2 separate regions of the Homo sapiens genome follow, and region 1 is linked to region 2. The links are contacts of gene promoters, found by promoter capture Hi-C in human tissues and cell types (Jung and others, 2019). All regions are on one chromosome and are shown on one strand. Each heading gives the region's core, a stretch centred on a gene start or on the middle of the fragment in contact. The rest is flanking DNA. Distances are from core to core; before and after follow the strand shown.

What was found. The method cuts DNA at HindIII sites, captures the fragments that hold promoters and counts their contacts. A contact is called where the count stands out against the background at its distance.
Region 1: a fragment that was not itself captured here is called in contact with the fragment with the promoter of MTIF2 in region 2 in 4 of the 25 tissues and cell types used here (adrenal gland, dorsolateral prefrontal cortex, hippocampus and 1 more).

Annotation. Positions count from the first base shown.
Region 1 is chr2:55,364,408-55,371,296 of GRCh38, reverse strand. The region is part of intron 5 of CCDC88A (coiled-coil domain containing 88A); the gene reads left to right. Among named protein-coding and RNA genes, the nearest start is that of CCDC88A, 52 kb to the left of the region's middle. The HindIII fragment of the contact is 6,438 bases long and covers 1,608-6,889 here.
Region 2 is chr2:55,265,340-55,272,746 of GRCh38, reverse strand. MTIF2 (mitochondrial translational initiation factor 2) reads left to right here and starts at 3,516. Exons shown (of 16, transcript NM_002453.3): 1 at 3,516-3,578; 2 at 4,008-4,169; 3 at 5,112-5,178. RefSeq lists enhancers at 2,655-3,478, 3,424-3,573. The HindIII fragment of the contact is 5,929 bases long and covers 1-4,542 here.

The DNA of each region.
Region 1 (6,889 bases), core at 3,577-6,076, 97 kb before region 2:
TCATGCTGTGTAATGTACAGGTGTTTACTTCACAATTGATTAAATATTAAGTTGAATATGGTCTTCTAATTTGGTCATCAGATTTTGAGTTAGAAACACAACTCGTATTTACAGCCTTTATGTACTATATTTGCTTTAAAAAATACCCTGTGTTGGTGAATGTTGCGTAAATTTAGATTACATAGCAATAGCATAAATATGGTTTTTATTGCTGGTTATTGCTTGGTGGTTATTGCTGATTACTAGAATTCACAGTAGGAATGGAGCAGAACCAAGGACCTTTTTTTGAGACAGGGTCTCACTCTGTCAGGCAGGAGTGCAGTGTCATGATCACGCCTCTCACTGCAGCCTTGACCTCCAGGGTTCAAATGATCTTCCCATTTCAGGCTCCTGAGCAGCTGGAACTACGGGCATGTGCCACCATGCCTGGTTAATTTTTTTTTTTTTTTTTTTAAGAAATGGGGCCTCACTGTGTTGCCCAGGCTGGTTTCAAACTCTTGACCTCAAGTGATCTTCCTGCCTCGGCCTCCCAAAGTACTGGGATTACAGGCATGAGCCACCCTGCCTGGCCCCAAAGGGTAAATTTATCTGAGAATAAAGAAAGACTAATTATATGCAAGTTAATTCTCTTTTTTTTTTTTTTTTTTTTTTTTTTGAGACAGAGTTTCGTTCTTTTTGCCCAGGCTGGAGTGCAATGGTATTATCTTGGCTCACTGCAACCTCTGCCTCCCAGGTTCAGGTGATTATCCTGCCTCAACCTACCAAGTAGCTGGGATGATAGATGTGTGCTACCACACCTGGCTAATTTTTTATTTTTAGTAGAGACAGGGTTTCACCATGTTGGCCAGGCTAGTCTCAAAACCCTGACCTCAGGTGATCTGCCCGCCTCGGCCTTCCAACGTGCTGGGATTACAGGCTTGAGTCATCATGCCCGGCCTAATTTTTTTCATATGAAGAGAGAATAGGTTTTATCAACTGTAGAAAACAAAGCAAAGGCTCAAGGAGACCATCATTCTAACCTATGTTAACATCATTCAAGGTTTTTTAGAAATGAGGAGATGGAAAGGGTGTCAGACCTTGGTTTTTGATATGATATCAGCTTGTCAAGAAACTTAAAGACCCATCTTTATATATATTTTATGTCCATGTAGTCATAGCAGAATTATGCTTTTACTTGAGAGCCCTTAAGACTTGCATCTATTGTGGTGCCAGAATGATGTATCTACCAAGAAAAGAGGAAGGATCCAATTTTGAAAAATGTTATCATTCTGCATTTCAAAAATGTTAGTGACCTAATTTTTTTCTTTTAATGTTTATGGGTGCTATAGTAAAGGACAGGGACAAGGATTTTAGAAAAAAGACGTAAAGCTCAAGGAGTTTGAATTTTAGAGAAGACAAGAGTAAACAGTACGAGTTTGAGGTGATAATTACCGTAATGTAATATACATTGGTGCATTGAAGAAGTATTTTCTTAAGTTTACTGGTAGTATTAGGAAAGCCCTCTGACAAGGTAATATTTGAAATGAGAGCAAAGATGTTGAGAAAACACCCTATTCAAGGAACATGAAGTGTGGTTGGGCCAGGGGTGGTGGTGGGTGGATCATTTGAGGTGAGGCGTTCAAGACCAGTCTGGCTACATGGTAAAACGTTGTCTCTGCCAAAAGAAAAATACAAAAAAATAGCTGGGCATAGTGGCTTGCGCTTGTAGTCCCAGCTACGCAGGAGGCTGAGACAGGAGAACGGTTTGAACCTGGGAGATGGAGGTTGCAGTGAGCTGAGATGGCTCCACTGCACTCTAGCCTGGGCGACAGAGCAAGACTTCATCTCAAAAAAAAAAAAAAAAAAAAGTGTGGTTGAAACGTAGGATTCATGGGGATGAGTGGCAAGGTATTAGACTGGAGAGTTTACATGAATTGAGTTATGAAGGACTGGATTTGCCACTTTAAGATAGAGTTCAGATTTCAGGCCAGACATGGTGGCTCACACCTGTAATCTCAGCACTTGGGAGGCCGGAACAGTGGATCACCTGAGGTCAGGAGTTCCAGACCAGCCTGGCTGACATAGTGAAACCCTGTCTCTACTAAAAATACAAAAATTAGCCGGGTGTGGTAGTGGGCATCTGTAATCCCAGCTACTCGGGAAGTTGAGGCAGGAGAATTGCTGGAACCCAGGAGGCGGAGGTTGCAGTGAGCCAAGATTGTGCCACTGCACTCCAGCCTGGGTGACAGAGCAAGACTCCATCTCAAAAAAAAGAAAAAAATTATTCTGTGGGTGTTTTGGAGCCACTACTACTAATAATATAAAATGTGTGACCAAAATCTGTCAGCCTTCAGCTGTGACCATATAAACAATTAGAAGTCTTTGTTGATACTTAATAGCCAGAATGTGTTTCTGGACAAGAAGCTATTGAGGAAACCAATCAGCCAACAAGTATTGTTGGAATATTTTGTAAAATGTCCTCTCTATTTCAGAAAATTTGTTCATCTTATAGTTGAACAGATTAAAATTCTAATATGTAAATAGCATGTTTTCCCACATCTAGGTCAATCAATTTTATCTGTTATAATTGTTATTTGTAGATAGAAATAGCAAGATACAATTTGCTGATACTAAAGTTTAGGAAATCAGTGGACCACAGGTTTCAAGAGATACTATATTCATGAAAAGAAATAGGGCTGGGTGCAGTGGGTCATGCCTGTAATCTCAGCACTATGGGAGGTTGAGGCAGGAGGATTGCTTGAGGCCAGGAGTTTGAGATCAACCTGGGCAGCATAAGGAAACTCTATTTATACAAAAAAAAATTTTTTTTTAATTAAAGAGGGAGAAAGAGAGAGAGAGGGAGGGGGGAAAGAGAGAGAGAAACAAGCATTGGGAAATTGAAAAATGTTTTCTTCTTTTGAAGAAAAAAAATGAAATTCTTAAGAGGAAGCAGCATTCAAAAACAGTAAAGTTAACCATTATCCAAAGATCTTACCTGACAAAATAAATTATGACTTTTAATCCTTGATTATATGTAAGTAAAAGCCACATAAATAACTTTAAATATGAAGAAAACCATCCAAGGCCAGGGCTTGGGTATTTTTGTTATTGGCTGTCCAACTCAGTCAAGTTCCTCCAGAATCTTTTTCAATGGGCAACCCAAGTCTTCTGAACCAGTTCTGAGCATCACCTAGAATTTTCACACATCTGTGACTCTTCATCCTAGCCCTGAAGTAGTTAGAGAGTCCTAGGTGAAACCATCCTATGCAGAAGAAAAAGTTTTGCAGTGTTTTGTTTGGAAATTTCTTTGTTCTAAGACTATGTGAAATTCATCTCTTTTTAGCAGAACTTAAAACCTACATAATACCTATCAGTGCAGGCTGCTTAGTATCCAGAAATATTACTTATTTTGGACTTTGGCCAGGTTGGGTAGTGCTGAAAGTAACTGAGTGTCAAGTGTGGTTGGAATTAAAATTTTGACCCTTTTATGTACCCTTAGAAGGAATCTACCGTTAGTATTTGATTCTGAAAACCAGTTTTGAACTTGGTTAGTTTGATGGCTACAATCTATTGTTTACTTATCAATGATCTGTAAAGCATCTTAAAGGTTAACATTTTAGAAATAAAACAAGTTTCTGCTTGGTTCAATGATGCGCCTTTAGTCTCAGCTACTTGGGAGGATCACTTGAGGCCAGGAGTTCAAGGCAGCCATATGGTATGATCATGCCTGTGAATAACCACTGTGTTCCAGCCTGGTAACGTAGCAAGACCCAGTCTCTTAAAAAAAAACAAGGAAATAAAACAATTTCTAGCAAGGCATTTGTTTTTCTGAGAATATTTAAAAATACAAATATAGCTCAAAGAGGGAGACTTTTGTTGATACAAGTATTGTTTTCAAATACATAATAGGAAATTTACCATTTTAACAATTTTTTAAGTATATAGTTCAGTGGTATTCTGATTGCTGTACATTCACATTGTTGTGTAACCATTACCACCATCCATCTGAAGAATTTTTCTCATCTTCTGAAGCTAAAACTCTGTACCCATTAAATGATGACTCCCTTTGTTACCAGACCTCGGTAACCACCATTTTACTTTATGTCTCTATGAATTCGATTGTTCTAGGTACCTCATATAAATGGAATCATACAGTATTTGTCCTTTTGATGGGCTTATTTCACTTAGCGTAATGTCTTTAAGGTTTTTTCATGCTATAGCATGTGTCAGTTTCCTTCCTTATTAAGGCTGAATAATATTCCATTATTTATATATGCCAAATTTTGTTCATCCATTCATCATTGATGAACACTTGAGTTGCCTCCATTTTTTGGCCCTTGTAAACAATGTTGCTATGAACATGAGTGTACAAATGTCTGTTTGAATCCCTGCTTATTGCTCTTTGGTAGAACTATGATTTGTTTAGACCTATATTATCGGTTTTCTTATTTAAAACACTATAATGTGTTCCTTGTCTTATTATTTTCTTGTTCAATAGCTTGTTTTGGGTGCCATTTCCTCTATTTTAGTATAGCTTTTCCATATAAACCTGTCTTCTTTCTTTAAGATCATAGAGCAGGTATTGAAAATATGAGGAATTTGAGGAATAAAGTATTAAGGGCTTAAGATCTCTGGTAGAAGATGTACAACTTTAGGGTTTATGCATATCTCTCCCACCCACCTCCCACCCTAATCACTTTTTTTGCTTTTTTCCTATGTCCAAGTTTCCACATCATATCTTGTGTGTGTGTGTGTGTGTGTGTGTGTGTGTGTGTGTGTGTGTATGTGTGTGTGACAGAGTCTTGCTCTGTTGCCTAGGCTGGAGTGTAGTGGCGCAATCTTGGCTCACTACAACCTCCGCCTCCTGGGTTCAAGCAATTCTTCTGCCTTAGCCTCCCAAGTAGCTGGGATTACAGGCGCCTGCCACCATGCCTGGCTAATTTTTTGTATTTTTAATAGAGACAGGGTGTCACCATGTTGGCCAGGCTGGTCTTGAACTCCTGACCTCAGGTGATCCAGCTGCCTCAGCCTCCCAAAGTGTTGGGATTACAGGCTTGAGCCATCACGCCTGGCCTCCATGTCGTATTCTTAGAATATCATGGTAATCTACTGGCTTAGTAATCAGTTACTATAATACAATAGAGTTAAAAAATTAATTTTAGTGCCCATGATAGTTTAAGAACTTTACATAAAGATAAGAGAGCTTAATTTTAATTGGAAAAAACAATTTGCTGATATTATTTAGTCTTCACAGCTGGTATTAAGCTATATATCTGTTTTTAACACCAGACTTTCTCATGCTCTGGAGCTGGCCTATTCAATACAGTAGCCACTAGCCGCATGTGGCTATTTAAATTAAAATTAATTACAATTAAATTAAAATTTCAGTTTCCCAGTTGCACTAGCTACATTTCAGGTACTCAGTAGCTGCATATAGCTAATGATCACCGTATTGGGCAGCTCTCATATAGAAATTTGATCTGATTATTCAGCTTCAAAGTGTGAATATTTTATTCTTTTTTCCATCTTGACAGTCTTTCTCTTTTTTAGCCTTCAAAAGCCTATGAAATTTATTCTGTATCCTTAGGGAAGCCCAACCTGTTTATAAAACATTTTGAGAATGCTTAGCTTCTAAGAGTTAAATTAAGGTGTGAGATTTAGTAGAAATCGTGTGTGTTACAAGAGTAAAGGGAAAATTTTCATTGATTTGTGTTGAGATTGTGCTAAAGGACGAGCTCCTAAAGATAGTACAAGTAAAAAACAAGTGGCTCTGGCTTAGAAAAGGGAAGTATATCTATTTAGTCTAAACTGAAGGCAGAGAAAGATACGGCAGTTGAATTAAGGAACTCTTTGGTGAGTCATAGTCATTACCTTTGATAATAATTATGCTGTTTTGTGTTCTGATAGGTTCAGAAACTGTGTAGGTCAACAATTTTGGTAGTGTTAAATTTTAAAATTGATGTTACTATACCTGAAAAGTTAATTATGTTATATATGCTATGAATTTATGATTAGAACGTAATTCTTAATTGTTCTTACAAGGCCTGTCAAGTATTATTTGCTAGAAAAAAATTCTTGAGTTTAAACCCACTAAGTTTTATTCCATCCACCCAAAACTCTGACTTCCTAATCACAGCTAGGAATTATACATTTCTGGTAATTTAGTTTTAACCATTTTATTATCCTAATAATTCTGTGTTTACAAGATATAGAACTTTCTGCATTGATGGAAGTGTATTTAAATTGTATAGTAGTAGAAAATATAGCATTACAGTTTGATAAAATAAACACGTAAAGCATAAATCAGAGCCTTATAAGTTTCATGATCAAAGAGCTAGTTTGTAATTTTGTGACTATATTGTCCTCACTAGTAGTTCAGTAATTGGCCCAGGAGATGCATCTAAGTTAGACAAGGCAGTGCTGTCTATTTTGTAGGCACTTTGCATTTGTTAGCTGTAAGAATACAGTGATACTAGCAGTTGGTTTGCAGCATTAGAGATGTAGGTGAAGGTGGAGATTAAAATGCATGTTAAATTGTTAATGCTGACTGGAAGGAAAAGATTGTTTTGCATTTTAATATTTTTAATTTATATAAAGCTTTTTAAAAGTTACACAATAAAGAATTACCCCCTTTATTCCATTTGGTTACGTGTGTACTCATGTATATATTTTTTAAGTTTGCCTCTGGTAACTTTGCTCTGTTAGAAACAAATCAAATATTTATTAGATTATGTTATAAATGTTGAACTGGGCCACAAAAGTGGGTTTCTTTTATTAAGCTTGATAGGATGAAGATGTGAGAATGAATTGTAAGCTTGAAGTAAAAATTGCTTAAATTTTTTTTCCAAGAAGAAAGGCTGTGTTGTTTGGTAATAGTCAGGGACTGACTGAGCATTTTGGCTGTATTCCG
Region 2 (7,407 bases), core at 2,267-4,766:
GAACATATGTATACTTAGTTGATACTTTTGGTTATAATCCGGTACTATGTTATTTTGCTGCTCAAATATTTCCAGCTTTGGCCATTGGGAGCTCTTTCAGGTTGGCTTCTCTGTTCCTTTAACTGTTTTCATTCTCTTCTTTTTTCTTTTTTTTTTTGCTACTTTCTATATTTTGGTATATTGCTTGAATTTTCTACATTAGCATGATTAGAAAATCTTAATGATTAGAAAATTAGAGGAACATAGATGCATATATGGTTATTTTCACCTTAATATTGTGGAAAAAAGATCTGGCAACTACTTTGATGGTTTACCAACTGATTTCTGCTTGTTTCTCAACTGCCTTGCAAGCCAAGTAAGACAGCAAAGAATTACTTCTCACAGAAATTAAACTTCAGTAGATATCTGCGAGTAGTAGGTAAAATGATAGCAGTTGGAGTAAACTTCAATAGTTTTCAACTGTTGTGCCTGTTAGGTTCAGTTAAAAAAAATTTCCAGGCCTAGCGCACTGGCTCACACCTGGAATCATAGCACTTTGGGAGGCTGAGGCGGGCAGATCACTTCAGGTCAGGAGTTCAAAACCGGCCAGGCCAATTGTACTAAAAATACAAAAAAAATTAGCCGGGCATGGAGGCAGACACCTGTAATCCCAGCTACTCTGGAAGCTGAGGCAGGAGAATCGCTTGAACCTGCGAGGCGGAGGTTGCAGTGGGCTGAGATCGTGCCATTGCACTCCAGCCTGGGTGACAGAGTGAGACTCCATCTCAAAAAAAAAAAAATGTCCAGGAGAGGAGTTTGCATTAAATCATTCAGTAACACCGATTACACACCTTTGTAGTAGGCATTGGGAAAGTGGGGAAAAAAAAGAGGTTGGTAGGTTGGGATGGGGGCATGAGTTAGGAGGTAAGATGATGGTGTAGCAGGATGAGCCGCAGACAAAACCTCTCAGACACCGAGTTGTAGAAGGAAGGGCTTTATTCAGCTGGGAGCATTGGCAAGCCACTGCCTTAAAATCCGAGCTCCCTGAGTGCACAATTTCTGTCCCTTTTAAGGGTTCACAACACTAAAGATTTCACATGAAAGTGTCGTGATTGATTTGAGCAAGCAAGGGGTACGTGACAGGGGCTGCATGCACCGGTGGTCAGAGACAAACAGAACAGGGCAGGGAGTTTCACAATGTTCTATACAATGTCTGGAATCTATGAATAACATCGGTTTCTAGGTTATGAGTTGATTTTTATTTTATTTATTTATTTATTTATTTATTTATTTATTTATTTATTTTGAGACGGAGTCTCGCTCTGTCACCCAGGCTGGAGTGCAGTGGCGCCATCTCGGCTCACTGCAAGCTCCGCCTCCCAGGTTCACGCCATTCTCCTGCCTCAACGTCCCAAGTAGCTGGGACTACAGGCACCCGCCACCACACCCGGCTAATTTTTTTTAATATATATTTAGTAGAGACGGGGTTTCACCGTGTTAGCCAGGGTGGTCTCGATCTCCTGACTTCGTGATCCACCCGCCTCGGCCTCCCAAAGCGCTGGGATTACAGGCGTGAGCCACTGCGCCCAGCCTGAGTTGATTTTTAACTACTGGGTTTAGGCCAGGCAGAGCCAGGCCTGGTTTTGGGCCTGGCGCCGGACTGCCTGTCTTTGATTTCACTTCTTTTTTCTCTCTTAAAACAGGTACTGAGTATAAAACAATATAAAACAATATGAGAGGGTCTCTCTCTTCCCTCAATGGCAAGTATGCTTTTGAGTAATGAACTTCTGTACCATACCAATTACCCAGGGGAGTGGTAGATCTTAAAGACAAAGATTAATTGATTGATTTTGTTTTCTTCTCAAATTCCTTTTACCAAAAGACAGAGATAATAAAACAATATTTATATTTGAGAGGTGGTGATGGTTGTGGTCAAAACGACCAGCTGAAAGTCATAATGTCCAAGCAAGATGAGGGAAAGCTCTGGGGGCAGGCAGTAATAACCATAACAGCAAACACATACTATGAACCAGGCACTACTTATCAACAGTTTATCAACCCATTAAAAGCTTATTGCAGCCGGGCGTGGTGGCTCATGCCTGTAATCCCAGCACTTTGGGAGGCTTAGGTGGGCAGTCACCTGAGGTCAGGAGTTCGAGACCAGCTTGGCCAACATGGTGAATTAGTGAGGCATGGTGATGTGCCCCTGTAATCTCAGCTACGCGGGAGGCTGAGGCGGGAGAATCACTTGAACCCAGGAAGCGGAGTTTGGTTGCAATGAGCCGAGATCGCGCCATTGTGCTCCAGCTTGGGCGACAGAGTGACACTGTCTCAAAAAAAACAAAAAACAGTCTGGGAGAGGTGGCTAACGCCTGTCATCCCAGCACTTTGGGAGGCCGATGTGGGCGGATCATCTGAAATAGGGAATTCGAGACCAGCCTGACCAACATGGAAAAACCCTGTCTCTACAAGAAACACAAAATTAGCCAGGAGTGGTGGCACATGCCTGTAATCCCAGCTACTCGGGAGGCTGAGGCAGGAGAATCGCTTGAACCCGGGAGGCAGAGGTTGCGGTGAGCTGAGATCGTGCCATTGCACTCCGGCCTGGGCAACAAGAGCGAAACTCCATCTCAAAAACAAATAGAAACAAAAACACAACAAAAACCTTATTACAATCCTGTGAACTAGCTACTGTCATTACTATAATGTAGATGAACAAACTGGGACATGGACAGTTGACAAAACATTCCCAACCACACACTAGGAATGAGCTGGGATAGGAAACCAGGCACTCTGGCTCTATTACTCCTAATGCCATACACACGAGCTGACTTAGGAGAAAACAGAAAGTACTGTTCGCACAATACTAACTGGTTCTACCGCCACTGTTCGCTTGCATTTGTTTTTTCCTTCTTGTTAGGAACACGTATCTTTGAAGGAGGTATCATTTCTCCCACAATTCTCCATTTAACGTTTCCTACAGTGTTAAGCACCACCGAGGCCTCTCATAGCCCCAGAGAAGAAGTAATTTGCTTCCTAGAAATCCTCACTGTATCCAGATTCCCTCCCAGAGGAGCCATCAGTTCTCATGGGTGGCACTTTTTCTCCAGCTGATTACACTTTTTTTCTGTACCAGTTAATTTTTCCAACTTCTAATTGAATAAAGGCAGTTTTCTTAAAAAAAAAAAAAAGAGAAAGAAAAACGGAAAGGAAGGAAGAGGAAAGGAAGGAAGAAATGAAGAAAGGAAGGAAGGAAAGAAAGGAGAGGGACAGAAAGAAAAAAAGGAAAGAGAGAAAGAAAGGAAAGGAAAGTAAGAAATGGAAGGGACCTGCAGAAACGATTCACCACGCGCGGCTGACCCTGGGAGGAGCCACAGGTTGAACCAGCGCCTCCCAGGCTGGACGCCCGCCGCGGACACCGCAGACAGTCCCACCCCCAGCGGCGACAGCAACTCTCTGAATTCCGGAAAGAACCTTTTCCAGCGGGACCGGAAGCCCGGCGGGGACCGTAGCGGGGACGGACTGACCTACCGACCATTCTTCCGGGTCCAGAAGGTGATCTCCGCCCGTGCTCAGAATCCAGGGGCCCGGGGCTGTAGGTAGGAGTTAAGTGGGTAGGATCCCTTAACCAGGGTTGTCCGGTGCAGGTGGTGTGTGTTGTTTCGCCTAACGTGTCAGTGGCACAAATCACGCGAACTTCATAAACATTGTGCGTTCGGAAGCCTTTCCAAGATGCATTTAATCCCTGCGTGAGCCCACGTTAGGCATTCACGAAGGCATGTGCACTGTTCTCTCGGAAGCGGCTGGCCGGCTTCCCCTCCTCGCGCGCGGCTGTGGGTGCAGGTCCTCACTTCCCAGCCTCCCATGGGCCCAAGGCCTTCTGGGCTCCAATTTGAGGCGAGCCACCCCAGATCCGTAATTTTTCTGCAGTGATTTATTTTTACCTTTCTGGTAAGTTCCAAAGCTTCCAGCTCACATTCAGACGTTTTCCCTAACGCAACTACGTATTTGCAACATACTTTTTTCAGATTCCTTGACAAGGATATCCTAGCGGCGAAACAACACCGTACTGGGAGTCAGAACGTCTGGGTTCTAGTCTTGACTGCCATTAACTAGCGGTATGACATTGGAGAAGCTTTTTTGACCCTTCTGGATTTCCGTTTCCTTTTCTGTAAAATGAGGAGCTTGGAGTAAGTGACAAGTTTCCTTCCAGTTTTGACATTTGGGTTATTGCCTCCAATGTGTCTTTCCAGTTCCTGCCTCAATTACATATCTGTGCTTTGGTTAATATCTCGTAGGGTCCTTCCTCCCACTCCATTAATCTGTGCTCTTCTCAAATCTGGTTTCATACTGATTTAAAAATTATTTTCTCAAGGAATCCTGTGTTACCTGAGCACTCTACTTCTTGGTCCAGGGGCACAAACGTAAATAAGATATTTTCCATGTGCCATTCTTAGAAGTATTTAATGTGTGTAAATACTATTGAATGAATTTCCAAATCTTCTTTTTTTTTTCTTTAGACAGAGTCTCACTGTCGCCCAGGCTGGAGTGCAGTGGCCTGATCTCGGCTCACTGCAGTCTCTGCCTCCTGGGTTCAAGCGATTCTCCTGCCTCAGCCTCCCAAGTCGCTGGGATTACAGGCGCCCGCCACCGTACCCGGCTAATTTTTGTACTTTTAGTAGAGAGGGGGTTTCACCATGTTGGCCAGGCTGGTCTCGAACTCCTGACCTCAGGTGATCCGCCCGCCTCGACCTCCCAAAGTGCTAGGATTACAGGCATGAGCCATCACGCCCAGCCTGAATTTCTAAATCTTAATGTGTTTATTTCGTTGGCATTAAGTTAGATTTTTCCTTGATCTTTACTCGAATAAGCCTTTTAAGGTAAAATGCTTGCTCGATTACACACACATACACAACCTCATAATTGTCCGAAGGTAAACAAGTTAATGACTTGTGAATATTTTTAACTTATAAGCAATGAATCCTCAAAGCTTATAAGCGAGTATCAAGACATGTGATATGGTTTTAAAATAGCTGATGATAAAGTATATACATCATCTCATTTTCTCCTCTTAGTCTTGTAATAGGAAGGACAGATATTCAAACACTTATTTATTTATTTATTTTTAACAGAGATCCGGAAAATGAGGCCCATAGGAAACAAGTGACTTGCTGAGTCCAGATAACACTGACTGTCAGAGTGAGTGTCCACCTAAGGTTCCTTTGTTGCCTAATAAGATACTTTCTTTGCTATACTGTACTTGTTTCTGTTATCATTTCTTTTCTTTCTTTTAAAAAATATTCAGTATAGGCCAGGCGCGGTGGCTCACGCCTGTAATCCCAGCACTTTGGGAGGCCAAGGCGGATAGATCACCTGAGGTCAGGAGTTCAAGACCAGCCTGGCCAACACGGTGAAACCCCGTCTCTACTAAAAATACAAAATAATTAGCCGGGTGTGCTGGCAGGCACCTGTAATCCCAGCGACTTGGGAGGCTGAGGCAGGAGAATCCCCTGAACCCAGCAGGTGGAGGTTGTAGTGAGCCAAGATCACGCCATTGCACTCCAGCCTGAGCGATGAGCAAAACTCCATCTCAAAAAAAAAAATTCAGTATATTCTATTTACCATGTCAGAACCATACATTTACTATGTCAGAACCATAAAATACACTTTGGGAAGATTGGTTGAAATGTAACATTTAGGCTAGGCGTGGTGGCTCACGCCTGTAATCCCAGCACTTTGGGAGGCTGAGACAGGTGGATCACCTGAGGTCAGGAGTTTGAGACTAGCCTGGCCAACATGGTAAAACCCGGTGTCTACTAAAAATACAAAAATTAGCCTGACACGGTGGCACACACCTGTAGTTCAAGCTACTTGGGAGGCTAAGGCTGGAGAAAATTGCTTGAACCCAGGAGGCAGAGGTTGCAGTGGGCTGAGATCACACCACTGAACTCCACCCTGGGCAACAGAGCGAGACTCCATCTGAAAAAAAAAAAAAAAAAAAAAAGAATGAAATGTAGCATTTAATGCCTAGTTATCTAGCAAAGATCACCCGTCCAGAGCCTTAATTTCTTTGGTCACATCAAATAACTATTATCATTTGTGAACAATTTTAAAGACTATCTAGTAGAAAATATAAATATATTTATATAATATATATGTTGTATATAAATATAAAATATAAGCATATTGTAGAAATGCCATATTATGAGATAAATCATTAAAAAAAAATTTTTTTTTTTTTTGAGACAGAGTCTCGCTCTGTCTCCCCGGCTGGAGTGCAGTGGCGTGATCTTGGCTCACTGCAACCTCTGTCTCCCGGGTTCAAGAAATTCTCCTGCCTCAGCCTCCCAAGTAGCTGGGACTACAGGCATGTGCCACCACGCCCAGGTAATTTTTTTGTATTTTTAATAGAGACGGGGTTTCACCATGTCGGTCAGGCTGGCGTCGAACTCCTGACCTCAAATGATCTGCCTGCCTTGGCCTCCCACAGTGCTGAGATTACAGGCATGAGCCACTGCGCCTGGCCAAAAATTTTAAGGCTTTGTAAAAGTTTATAATTTTGTTCAAGATAGCTTTATATGGTTAAGGTAAACGCATTGAAATAGTTCATAATTTCCATTCTTTTTTTTTTGTAATGCTGAAGAATATATGTGTCTCTCAGTATCTATGGGGCATTGGTTCCAGGACCCCCGCTGCCGCATGCCAAAATTTACAGATGTCCAAGTTCCTTATATAAAATGGCGTATATTTACATGTAACCTAAGCACATACCATTGTATACTTCATGTCATCTCTAGATTACTTATGATACCTAATACAAAGCAAATACTATGTAAACAGTATACTTTAGGGAATAATGACAAGGAAAAAGGTGTACATATTCAGTAGAGACAGAACCATCTTTTTAAAAAATTAAAAAAATTTTCGATCCACAATTGTTTGAATCCACAAATGTGGAACACATGGATACAAAGGGCTGATTAGTAATGTTTAATGATATAAAATAATATTCACAATGTATTCTTTAGTGTAAAAAGTTGTAAAACAAAATTAATATGACCTTATTTTTGTGAGTAAAATAGATAAAAGCACAAAGAAAAGAGTTGAAAATATATATATTAAAATGTTAACTAAAGTTATTTTTGAGTAGTGAGTAAAAGAAAATCTATACTGAAGAGTCTAAAAGGCTATACCCACTACTTGGAAATGTACTCTCCATTGAAAAGCAAACAGACAAACAAAAAAAACCTTAAAATGACTTTACAATTTATAGAAATAATTTTGCATATTATTGCAATGAAAACACGACCCTAGGTTATAATCAGTCATCATAGGTAGTGTCTCGTGTGCCTGAGATTCATTGTATTGGCAAGCTTGCTTTAACGACAATGAACTGTTTGTGGAATGGAACCTGGCTTATTAAACTTT